Regions from separate parts of the Homo sapiens genome. Here region 2 is linked to region 1. The links are contacts of gene promoters, found by promoter capture Hi-C in blood cells and fetal thymus (Javierre and others, 2016). All regions are on one chromosome and are shown on one strand. The core of a region is centred on a gene start or on the middle of the fragment in contact, and the rest is flanking DNA. Distances in the headings are between cores, read along the strand shown.

What was found. The method cuts DNA at HindIII sites, captures the fragments that hold promoters and counts their contacts. A CHiCAGO score of 5 or more calls a contact.
Region 2: the fragment with the promoter of IBTK here is called in contact with the fragment with the promoter of EEF1A1 in region 1 in 2 of 17 cell types (total CD4 T cells and total CD8 T cells); the score reaches 7.4 in total CD4 T cells.

Annotation. Positions count from the first base shown.
Region 1 is chr6:73,518,349-73,524,700 of GRCh38, reverse strand. It overlaps EEF1A1 (eukaryotic translation elongation factor 1 alpha 1), which reads left to right and starts at 3,669. Exons shown (of 8, transcript NM_001402.6): 1 at 3,669-3,701; 2 at 4,645-4,818; 3 at 5,185-5,364; 4 at 5,473-5,769; 5 at 5,853-6,003; 6 at 6,091-6,347. The coding sequence starts at 4,675. EEF1A1-AS1 (EEF1A1 antisense RNA 1) reads right to left here and starts at 1,090. Exons shown (of 5, transcript NR_187283.1): 1 at 866-1,090; 2 at 155-245. RefSeq lists silencers at 845-1,024, 1,065-1,204, 2,912-3,141 and enhancers at 2,864-3,686, 3,722-3,801, 3,852-3,961, 3,687-4,508, 4,252-4,551 and 1 more. The HindIII fragment of the contact is 5,848 bases long and covers 365-6,212 here.
Region 2 is chr6:82,242,642-82,248,993 of GRCh38, reverse strand. It overlaps IBTK (inhibitor of Bruton tyrosine kinase), which reads left to right and starts at 1,250. Exons shown (of 29, transcript NM_015525.4): 1 at 1,250-1,432. RefSeq lists a silencer at 1,448-1,617. The HindIII fragment of the contact is 2,262 bases long and covers 94-2,355 here.

The sequences.
Region 1 (6,352 bases), core at 2,420-4,919:
GCAACCTCCTCCTCCCGGGTTCAAGCAATTCTCCTGCCTCAGCCTCCCAAGTAGCTGTGATTATAGGTGCACACCACCAAGCCTGGCTAATTTTTATATCTTTAGTAGAGACGGGAGTCTCACCATGTTGGCCAGGCTGGTCTCGAACTCTTACCTCAGGTGATCCGCCTGACTCGGCCTCCCAAAGTGCTGGGATTACAGGCGTGAGCCACCGCACCGGGCCATCATCTTTTCTTCAGAGGTAGCTACAGCAGATGAAAAGATTTAAAAATCATTTTCACGTGGCAAGCCATGGTAAAATGTAACTATTTAAGGCTGCTTTAAATTAGACTAATAGCAGAGTGGTCAGACTATACTGAAAGCTTGGTGAATCACAATTAAGTACCTCAAAGAACTATTCTTGTTTGCCTTATTCCTATGTAAATAACTGAAATCTTTGTTTTTCTTCCTAAAAGGGGTCATGTTGATTTTTACTTACAATGTATTTTAAGTTTGTCACTCTAAATGGTTATGAGCAAGTTTAAGAAAAATCTTCAGCAAATACTACCTTAGATTATGACCCCAAAACACATTTACGAGCCTCAACATCGTTACTGTTACCGCTTTAACATTTAAGGCAGTAAAAAGCATACTGGATCTCTGTAAAGGCGTAGGGGTGCGGGGAATCCGTTATGATTATGTTGAAAACATAGGGTCTGGGGAAAAAGGGATTTAAAATAAGAAGAAAAAGAAGACTTGGGACTTAAAAAGTCTTTTAGAGGCCAGCTCACGGTGACAAAAACCGACCCTCACCCCGAGCCACGTGAGGTTTTCTGCTTCCTCCCAGGCCCTTCCTTCCGCAGTCAGAAGGCGGAAGAAAAGTTACCTCAAGGTGGGGCGAGTGGCAGGGCGGACCCTGGCGACCTGACGCTGCGGAGGCTCGAGCGGCGTATCCATACCACCCAGCTGTTCGCCGCGGGAACCCGCCGGCCCGCAGGTGACCCAGCGCTGGAAAAACGCCAGCGACGTGGCCTGGCGAGCTGGCGCGGGGCAAGGACCACCCGCGCCCGCCTTGCCGCCCCAGCCTCCCTCCCTAGGAAGCAGGGTGCGCCCCGGTGCGCGCGGGGCTTCCCCGGACCGGCGTTCCAGTCCCTCTCCGGCTTCCGGCCCACCCCGGCCCCACTGAGAGCAGAAATGTGATCTCTGCCCTGAGAAAATGCTCGTGGCCAGTGACTACCCCTAACGCACAATAATATGGCTCCGATGGGCTCAAAGGTATTGGTTTTTTGTTTTGTTTTGAGACAAGGTCTCACTCGGTCGCCCAGGCTGGAGTGCAATTGCGTGATCTTGACTCACTGCAACCTCCGCTTCCCGGGCTCAAGCGATTCTCCTGCCTCAGCCTCCCAAGTAGCTGGGATTACAGGCATGCGCCACCACGCCCGGCTAATTTTGTATTTTCAGTAGACAGGGTTTCACCATGTTGGCCAGGCTGGTCTCGAACTCCTGGCCTCAAATTATACGTCCGCCTCGGCCTCCCAAGGTGCTGGTATTATAGGCGTGAGCCACCGCGCCCGGTCCAGTGTTGGTTCTTAAACGCGAGAATTGAGATCTCCCTTCACCTAATGAAAGTCTCGGCCACTATCGCAACATTCAGAACACCCAGTCTGTGTTGCACAATATGTTACTTAGGTATAAATCAAGGATTCATGTAATTTTGTCATTCCTTGCGTGATATTTTAAAAAACATTCTGTGTAAGGTATTTATAAAGCGTTTACTATTATCCGCAATCACAGGGGCTTGAGGAAAAACTTTGACTGTGGCCGGGCACCGTGGCTCACGCCTGTAATCCCAGCACTTTGGGAGACCGAGCCGGGTGGATCACTTGAGGTCAGCAGTTCGAGACCAGCCTGGCCAACATGGTGAAACCCCCGTCTCTTCTAAAAATACAAAAATTTGTGGGGCGCGCTTGTAGTCCCAGCTACTTGGGAGGCTGAGGCAGGAGGAATCGCTTGAACTCGGGAGGCAGAGCTTGCAGTGAGCCGAGATCGCGCCACTGCACTCCAGCCTGGGCAACAGAGTAGAACTCCGTCTCAAAAAAAAAAAAAAAAAAGAAAGAAAGAAAAAAAAGTGGACTGTGAAAACTGAAAGGACTAGAAAAACTACACTACAAAGATACAGAAACCAAGAAAGCACCATAGCGTTTGCCTTCAACTGCTTCCCAACTTGTTTTCCTCTTCCAATTTGATTGTGGTTTCCTCTCCAGAAGGAACTCCACAGTACTTAGCGTTGGCCACATAGTAGGTTCTCAAATACTTGTTAATAAATAAGTTTGTTCGAGAAGCTGGGCAATGATATTCTACAGCTGGAAGAAGAAACATAATGATCTAGTAATTAGCTCATTAAAAATAAACGTTCTTCTTTCCTCAGAGGAGCATTTCCCAAGGCCTGCCTTGATAGCCATCCAAAAAGGCCAAGCTCATCCAATCTTGCCCTAGATTTATGCTAAAATGCAGTTACAATCGATAGGATGACAGAAAACGACAGCACTTATTTAAATATAATAGGCACTTATTTAAATAGGAGAAGCTGTGACTTCATAGCAAGTGTTGGGGTTAGGAAACTGGGTGGATAAACTTGCTGATGCTGTAGATCTTAGCCTCTACATGAGATCATGTGGAAAATCTGAAAGCATTTTAGGTTCCTTATGTTTGCAATCAAATAACTGTACACCTTTTAATTTAAAAAGTACCATGAGGCACACACACACACTCGCAGGAACTTTTTGGCGTAACAAAACTAGAATTAGATCTAAAGCTAACTGTAGGACTGAGTCTATTCTAAACTGAAAGCCTGGACATCTGGAGTACCAGGGGGAGATGACGTGTTACGGGCTTCCATAAAAGCAGCTGGCTTTGAATGGAAGGAGCCAAGAGGCCAGCACAGGAGCGGATTCGTCGCTTTCACGGCCATCGAGCCGAACCTCTCGCAAGTCCGTGAGCCGTTAAGGAGGCCCCCAGTCCCGACCCTTCGCCCCAAGCCCCTCGGGGTCCCCGGGCCTGGTACTCCTTGCCACACGGGAGGGGCGCGGAAGCCGGGGCGGAGGAGGAGCCAACCCCGGGCTGGGCTGAGACCCGCAGAGGAAGACGCTCTAGGGATTTGTCCCGGACTAGCGAGATGGCAAGGCTGAGGACGGGAGGCTGATTGAGAGGCGAAGGTACACCCTAATCTCAATACAACCTTTGGAGCTAAGCCAGCAATGGTAGAGGGAAGATTCTGCACGTCCCTTCCAGGCGGCCTCCCCGTCACCACCCCCCCCAACCCGCCCCGACCGGAGCTGAGAGTAATTCATACAAAAGGACTCGCCCCTGCCTTGGGGAATCCCAGGGACCGTCGTTAAACTCCCACTAACGTAGAACCCAGAGATCGCTGCGTTCCCGCCCCCTCACCCGCCCGCTCTCGTCATCACTGAGGTGGAGAAGAGCATGCGTGAGGCTCCGGTGCCCGTCAGTGGGCAGAGCGCACATCGCCCACAGTCCCCGAGAAGTTGGGGGGAGGGGTCGGCAATTGAACCGGTGCCTAGAGAAGGTGGCGCGGGGTAAACTGGGAAAGTGATGTCGTGTACTGGCTCCGCCTTTTTCCCGAGGGTGGGGGAGAACCGTATATAAGTGCAGTAGTCGCCGTGAACGTTCTTTTTCGCAACGGGTTTGCCGCCAGAACACAGGTAAGTGCCGTGTGTGGTTCCCGCGGGCCTGGCCTCTTTACGGGTTATGGCCCTTGCGTGCCTTGAATTACTTCCACGCCCCTGGCTGCAGTACGTGATTCTTGATCCCGAGCTTCGGGTTGGAAGTGGGTGGGAGAGTTCGAGGCCTTGCGCTTAAGGAGCCCCTTCGCCTCGTGCTTGAGTTGAGGCCTGGCTTGGGCGCTGGGGCCGCCGCGTGCGAATCTGGTGGCACCTTCGCGCCTGTCTCGCTGCTTTCGATAAGTCTCTAGCCATTTAAAATTTTTGATGACCTGCTGCGACGCTTTTTTTCTGGCAAGATAGTCTTGTAAATGCGGGCCAAGATCTGCACACTGGTATTTCGGTTTTTGGGGCCGCGGGCGGCGACGGGGCCCGTGCGTCCCAGCGCACATGTTCGGCGAGGCGGGGCCTGCGAGCGCGGCCACCGAGAATCGGACGGGGGTAGTCTCAAGCTGGCCGGCCTGCTCTGGTGCCTGGCCTCGCGCCGCCGTGTATCGCCCCGCCCTGGGCGGCAAGGCTGGCCCGGTCGGCACCAGTTGCGTGAGCGGAAAGATGGCCGCTTCCCGGCCCTGCTGCAGGGAGCTCAAAATGGAGGACGCGGCGCTCGGGAGAGCGGGCGGGTGAGTCACCCACACAAAGGAAAAGGGCCTTTCCGTCCTCAGCCGTCGCTTCATGTGACTCCACGGAGTACCGGGCGCCGTCCAGGCACCTCGATTAGTTCTCGAGCTTTTGGAGTACGTCGTCTTTAGGTTGGGGGGAGGGGTTTTATGCGATGGAGTTTCCCCACACTGAGTGGGTGGAGACTGAAGTTAGGCCAGCTTGGCACTTGATGTAATTCTCCTTGGAATTTGCCCTTTTTGAGTTTGGATCTTGGTTCATTCTCAAGCCTCAGACAGTGGTTCAAAGTTTTTTTCTTCCATTTCAGGTGTCGTGAAAACTACCCCTAAAAGCCAAAATGGGAAAGGAAAAGACTCATATCAACATTGTCGTCATTGGACACGTAGATTCGGGCAAGTCCACCACTACTGGCCATCTGATCTATAAATGCGGTGGCATCGACAAAAGAACCATTGAAAAATTTGAGAAGGAGGCTGCTGAGGTATGTTTAATACCAGAAAGGGAAAGATCAACTAAAATGAGTTTTACCAGCAGAATCATTAGGTGATTTCCCCAGAACTAGTGAGTGGTTTAGATCTGAATGCTAATAGTTAAGACCTTACTTATGAAATAATTTTGCTTTTGGTGACTTCTGTAATCGTATTGCTAGTGAGTAGATTTGGATGTTAATAGTTAAGATCCGACTTATAAAAGTTTGATTTTTGGTTGCTTCTGTAACCCAAAGTGACTAAAATCACTTTGGACTTGGAGTTGTAAAGTGGAAACTGCCAATTAAGGGCTGGGGACAAGGAAATTGAAGCTGGAGTTTGTGTTTTAGTAACCAAGTAACGACTCTTAATCCTTACAGATGGGAAAGGGCTCCTTCAAGTATGCCTGGGTCTTGGATAAACTGAAAGCTGAGCGTGAACGTGGTATCACCATTGATATCTCCTTGTGGAAATTTGAGACCAGCAAGTACTATGTGACTATCATTGATGCCCCAGGACACAGAGACTTTATCAAAAACATGATTACAGGGACATCTCAGGTTGGTGGGATTAATAATTCTAGGTTTCTTTATCCCAAAAGGCTTGCTTTGTACACTGGTTTTGTCATTTGGAGAGTTGACAGGGATATGTCTTTGCTTTCTTTAAAGGCTGACTGTGCTGTCCTGATTGTTGCTGCTGGTGTTGGTGAATTTGAAGCTGGTATCTCCAAGAATGGGCAGACCCGAGAGCATGCCCTTCTGGCTTACACACTGGGTGTGAAACAACTAATTGTCGGTGTTAACAAAATGGATTCCACTGAGCCACCCTACAGCCAGAAGAGATATGAGGAAATTGTTAAGGAAGTCAGCACTTACATTAAGAAAATTGGCTACAACCCCGACACAGTAGCATTTGTGCCAATTTCTGGTTGGAATGGTGACAACATGCTGGAGCCAAGTGCTAACGTAAGTGGCTTTCAAGACCATTGTTAAAAAGCTCTGGGAATGGCGATTTCATGCTTACACAAATTGGCATGCTTGTGTTTCAGATGCCTTGGTTCAAGGGATGGAAAGTCACCCGTAAGGATGGCAATGCCAGTGGAACCACGCTGCTTGAGGCTCTGGACTGCATCCTACCACCAACTCGTCCAACTGACAAGCCCTTGCGCCTGCCTCTCCAGGATGTCTACAAAATTGGTGGTAAGTTGGCTGTAAACAAAGTTGAATTTGAGTTGATAGAGTACTGTCTGCCTTCATAGGTATTTAGTATGCTGTAAATATTTTTAGGTATTGGTACTGTTCCTGTTGGCCGAGTGGAGACTGGTGTTCTCAAACCCGGTATGGTGGTCACCTTTGCTCCAGTCAACGTTACAACGGAAGTAAAATCTGTCGAAATGCACCATGAAGCTTTGAGTGAAGCTCTTCCTGGGGACAATGTGGGCTTCAATGTCAAGAATGTGTCTGTCAAGGATGTTCGTCGTGGCAACGTTGCTGGTGACAGCAAAAATGACCCACCAATGGAAGCAGCTGGCTTCACTGCTCAGGTAAC
Region 2 (6,352 bases), core at 1-2,500, 8.7 Mb before region 1:
GTCTCGATCTCCTGACCTCGTGATCCGCCCGCCTCGGCCTCCCACATTGCTGGGATTACAGGCGTGAGCCACCGCGCCCGGCCAACTTAAGCTTATTTTCAAAACCACTCAATTTTGACATTACAAACTGGTTTTTGTTTTGTAGAAGGACATTAAGAATAAAGAGCAAAGAAACAATTATGTGCTGGGAAGGGCAGTAGGAGGGCTGGGTCCTAGTCTCCCTTTCTCTTTCGCTAAGCAGCTGTGTGGCTTTGGGCTAGTAACCTACCCTCCCACAAAAAAGGCTTCAAAAGAGAGCAAGCAGAGCTCAGTGGGCATTAAGACATGCGCAACTCCTTTCTTTTAGAGATTAGATGAGGTCGACTCAGTGGCTTGTAAAACTCAACGTGGCAGAGCTGTACAGCCAACTCATGATTCTTAGTGTCGTTTGTTTTGAGTCACACTACACCTCCTTGAACAATCATTTACTGAGTGCTTACCGTATTAGGCATTCAGCAGCAGTGTGTTTCCCATTCAGTAACCTAGTATTGATTATTGGCTACTGTCCCTCCTAGCATTTTTCACTTGACCACTTTCTAAATGGCCTTTAGATTCAGAGTTCAAGTGGAAAAAGCCTAGTGTAAGCCTGGTGTCAGGCAGTGAGTGGCGTGACCCGGGTCGGCAGCTAGTCCTACGGTGGTGATCTAAGAGGGCAGTGACGCCTTCTGACCAAGGGAGTGACTGCCAGATAATCCGGGTGTATGGAGATCCAGAGAGGGGTGAGGCTGGGTTTACGGAGACTACACCTTTGGCTTTGCAGTAACCCCACTGCTAAGGCCATGGGAGGAAACTCTTCTGTGCAGGACGCCTATGCACTTGGCTTCTGCTGCGTAGCGACCGGGTGTCCAAGGCATCCTGCCAGGTCTCCTTCTCCACTCGGGTTTAGCCTCCCCCGCGAGTCTCCAGCTACCTAGAGAGACGTTTCTAACTACGAGATGGCTGGCCTGAAAGGGACACTCCCATCACCGTTGTTGGCCTAGAGTTCCCCGCTGCGGCCTTTTTCTTTTCCCCGCCCCTGGCCTGAGTCAGCGGCCCCAAGGCCGGCGAGGTCAAGTTCCTTTGGGGCGCCAGGGAAAAGGCCATGGCAGAGGTGCTGCCACGCGAAACCTTCTGGGCAGGCACCAGCCAATCATCAAGAGACATACAGGAGCCCCAGCCAACCAGCGCCCGCCTTATTACTGGGAACCGCCCGCTCGGGCCCTTCCTCTACATCCCCGTTCCCGATTCCTGTAGTAGCGGCTGTATTGCAGCCGCCTGCCGAACTGACCCGGGTCTGGGGACTGGCCCCTCTGGCGCCGTTCGGTTTCTCTTATTGCCTTCACTGAGGATGAGTCCCTTTGTGGCTCTATGTGGACCCTGCGGAATCCACCGGCGCAGTTTCATCTAGCGACTGGTGAGGGAGGGCTTGGCGCTGCCCGACCGTGCGGTGCGGCTTCCCTTCAGCCCGGGGGCAGGGGGAGAGTATTCGCCTTCTGGAGGGTGCGGGTGGCTGCGGACGGCGGCGCGGGGGGACCGTGGGGAGGGGACTCTGTGGCCCCGAGGCTGCCGGGCTTCGCGCGAGGCGGCGCGGAGAGGGCCGAGTGGCCAGGGTCCCTACCGCCCCCCTCAGCTAATGAATGGCCTGTCCCGGCGATGCGCTACGCTCCCGTCCTGCTGGACACGCCCTCCAGCGACATTGCATTCCTAGTTGTGATAGTTATGTAGTGTCACTTTCCTTCGAGTCTTGGATTTGAAGCCATTCCTGTGGGCGCTCATGTTCCTTATCCCCTTCCTGGAGTCACAAGTTTGAGTCCACCCTGGGGATACTGACTCTGGGGAAGCAGGTCGTGAAATCTGATAAGTGGACATTGATTGCTATGTAAAAAGGAACTGATTCTTTTTGGAGGGTGGAGGGTTGAGAGAGACAGAGAAGACAGGCCCTTTGTTTTTGTAACAGGCAGAGCTGTCTGGCTCAAAGAGTTTTAGTTCAGCTGCGAATTAGGTAACATAGGCCGTCCTTGACTCCTGTTTTCCAACGTAGTTCATAAAACTTGACTGTGTTAGCCAGAGATTCATGTAGCACCTTTTAACTTATGCCTCGAAGTAGGCCATTTGAAATTTATCAGAAATACTGAAAGGATATGACTTTTATGAGTAGTAGTGTTTCAGTGCCCATAAAGTGGTGTAAATTCACAGGCTTGCCAGCCCCCTCTTGATCATTTCTCTTTTTGTATTTTGAATTCCTTAACTTTTATTTGTTTTAGAAATTGAGGCAAGGTAGATGAGGACAAAACTGGTTTCTAAAAATAATTACATTTGCAAATATTTGCAGAAGCTTTAGTCAAACCAGAGTTTACTTCAAGAAATTTTTTAGGCCGGGCGCGGTGGCTCACGCCTGTAATCCCAGCTACTGGGGAGGCTGAGAATTGCTTGAACCCGGGAGGTGGAGGTTGCAGTGAGCCGAGATCGCGCCGCTGCACTCCATCCTGGGCGACTGAGTGTGGCACCATCTCAAAAAAAAAAAAAAAAAAAAAGATGCCTGTAATCCCAGCAGTCTGGGAGGCCAAGGTGGGCGGATCACTTGAGGTCAGGAGTTCGAGGCCAACTTGGTGAAACCCCGTCTCTACCAAAAATACAAAAAAATCAGCCAGGCATGGTGATGTGTGCCTGTAATCCCAGCTACTCGGGAGGCTGAGGCAGAATCGCTTGAGTCTCCAGCTGCCCTACCAAACTGCTTTTGAATTCAATTATTTTGAATTGAATTCCATGGTACTTTTTTCTACTACACTATACTACTTGCATTGAAATTTTTCTAACTGCCTTTTGGGAGAGCAGTTTGGTAGCATAGAATAGGTGGGATCAAGAGCACTTTTCTGTCGGTATTATTTTAGGTAGGCTTTTTAAACTTTCACATGAATCTCCTCATCAGAAAATGAAAGTGATCATATTTACAGGGGCAATAATAAGGATTATATTTATGTAGAGCACTGTGTATAATGTATAAAACAAAATTTCACCTATAATTTTTGTGTGTTTTTTCCGTTGTTTAATTTTGTTTTGCTTTACTCACTTCCAAAGTATTGACCCCTTACTCTTCTTTCTAGTTTCCCTATCTGTTCTCCAAGCCAGAAACCTGGGAATTACCACCACATCTTGTCAATTCAAGATCCTAAGTATGTCTTTGGATTGCCTGCCCTTTTTTTTTTAAATCTCTAAGAAAAGGCACATAAGGCTGTTCAAAATCCTGTCTATCCTTGTGTGTATGTTAGGCCTCACTTCTTTCTGTCTTCTGAATTATTTAGAAATTTTGGAATGGACCAAGATGATTCTAGTTCTTTTATATTTACTATCCCTTCTGCTTCAAATGTGCTCTCACCCAGAATTTATCAGGCCAACACATATGGTACTCTTTTTTTTTTTAGAAGGAGTCTCGCTCAGTCGCTCAGGCTGGAGTGCAGTTGCATGATCTTGGCTCTCTGCAGCCTTGACTGACCAGTTTTAAGTGATCCTCCCACCTCAGCCTCCAGAGTAGTTGGGACTACAGGGATGTGCCACTACGCCTAATTTTTGTATTTTTTTTTGTAGCGATGGCTTTCACCATGTTGCCCAGGCTGATTTCAAAGTCCTGGGCTCAAGTGATTTGCCTGCCTCAGCCTAACAAAGTGTTGGGACTACAGGCATGAGCCACTGTGCCTGGCCAGTACTCATCTTTTAAGTCTTAGTTTATACATAGTTTATCTCCTGTAGAAAGTCTTACCTGGACCCCTCTTCTGCACTCCCCGTTCCTATGTGTCACTTGTTTTATCTTGACCATAGGTTTATAATTATGATATGTTTTAGTTACTTGCCTAAATAAAATTACTCTCTTCTACCAAACTGTGACCCTTTGATAATAGGAACTGTGTAATAGATCATAAGTTTTGTTCAGTTAGTACATATGTTAAACTAGCTATGCATCCACCTGAGTATTATCCATGAACCTGTATTTTATTTTATCTAAAATATTTAGGTCCTAATTATTTTTGTATTCCCAATGCCTTGTGACCTACTATGGATGCGCTGAAGAAGACAGTGTAACGTAGCAGAAATAGCACGGACCTCATCATTAAACAGATCTGTATTTGAAGTCTGACTCCCTCTTTTCTTGGTGGTATGATTTAGGTGGTTTACTTGACTGGTCTGATGTAAAGCATTCCGTATGTATTAGGTCTTTAAATGCTTATTTCCTTTGCTTTCTTCCCCTTCTTTAAGCAGTTTTTGAATGCATAGATAAGAAGTACAATAGGCATTGGAAATATGGGCCTGGAGTTTAGGGCAAATATGTGAGCAAGAGACAGATTTGGGGATTTATAATCATGTGTACGGTAGAGTTAAAAGCATGAAAAGGATTGAAACTATCAGGAACAATATGAAGTAGAGGACTGAGGATTATTTCAGAGAAGCCCAGTTTGAAGGACAGGGGAAGCGATAATGCCCTAGGAAGAAGTGGTTAAGAGAGAGAGCCCATGCTTAAATGTTTCTGCGACTTCCTGCCCTTCCTGGATCTCTTTTAGACTCCTTAAGGGAATGAGGTTTTAAAGACATAAAAGCAGGGAAGGCAAGTAAGAATTGAAAATATCTAAAAGTGTTTGGTAATTTGGAAGTCATTAGTAACTTTAGCAATAATGATTTCTTTGGAGAAGTGGTAACAAGTGATAATGAAGCTCAAACATGAATTTTGGAGTTAAAATGTATTACCTTTTTATGACTGAAGAAACAATAGTAATGAAAACTATTATTTGTCGAATGCATATTTAGTGCCAGGTACCATGTTAGGTAGTTTCATTTATCATTATAGTAACCATGTGAAGTCCATGGATTGTTTCTATTTTCAGATGAAGAAACGACTTGGAGAGATTATGTCATTTTTTAGTTATATAACTGATAACAGCTGACATTGCTATATTTGAATCTATGTATGTAAAACTCTAAGAAATCCTAGCTCTTAATCGCTTCCATGTTTATGTTCATAGTATTCTGTAGGTGCCGCTTTCTCTATATGATAGTATGGAATGACTTTTTAACATTCTTTTTTCCCCCCTTTAAATGTTTACATTATATATACTAATGAATTAGGGAATTCTTTTCTGTTGTATCTTAATTCTTTAATGTAAGGTTTGAGTGATTCACCAGTAAGTAGTTCCTTCCAGGTATTATGCATACAATGAAAATACAAACATGGTGGGATTTTAGAGCTTTAAAAGAATGAAATTAACTGGATGAACTATTTTGCCACATACAATAAATAGTCCCTACTTATCCAAGGACACATTCTAAAACCCCCAGTGGATGCCTGAAACTGCAGAGAGTACTGAACCCTATATATGCTATGTTTTTACAATTTGCTAACCAAGAGGGCTACTCAGTGACTATCGAGTTGGTAGCATGTACAGTATGGCAATGCTGGACAAATGTATGATTCATGTCTCAGGTGAGGTGGAGTGGTTTGGAGTGGGACACTATGAGATTTCATCATACTGCTCAGAATAGTATGCAATTTAAAACATAAATTGTTTATTTCCAAAATTTTCATTTAATATTTTTGGACTATGGTTGATTGTGGGTAATAGAAACCATAGAAAGCAAATGGATAATGGGGAACTACTGTGTCATGCTTTCCATTTTTAACCTTTTAAAGTACTTGACGATTGGTACCTTTTTTTCTCTTTGCTACCAAACACTTTTTTTTTTTTTTTTTGAGACAGAGTCTCTCTGTCGCCCAGGCTGGAGTGCAGTGGCACGATCTCGGCTCACTGCAAGCTCCGCCTCCCAGGTTCACGCCATTCTCCTGCCTCAGCCTCCCAAGTAGCTGGGACTACAGGCGCCCGCCACCACACCCGGCTAATTTTTTGTATTTTTAGTAGAGACGAGGTTTCACCGTGTTAGCCAGGATGGTCTTGATCTCCTGACCTCGTGATTCGCCTGCCTTGGCCTCCCAAAGTGCTGGGTTTACAGGCATGAGCCACCGTGCCCGTCTTTTGTTTTGTTTTGTTTTGTTTTTGAGACAGAGTCTTGCTTTGTCACCAGACTGGAGTGCGGTGGCGGGATCTCGGCTCACTGCAGCCTCCACCTCCTGGGTTCAAGCATTTCTCCTGCCTCAGCCTCCCAAGTAGCTGGGATTACAGGAGTGTGGCCAGCTAATTTTTGTATTTTTAGTAGAGATGGGGTTTCACCATCTTGGCCAGGATTGTCTTGATCTTTTGACCTCATGGTCCGCCCACCCCGGCCTCCCAAAGTGCTGGGATTACAGACGTGAGCCACCGTGCTCGGCCCCCAAACACATTTTTATTTGTTT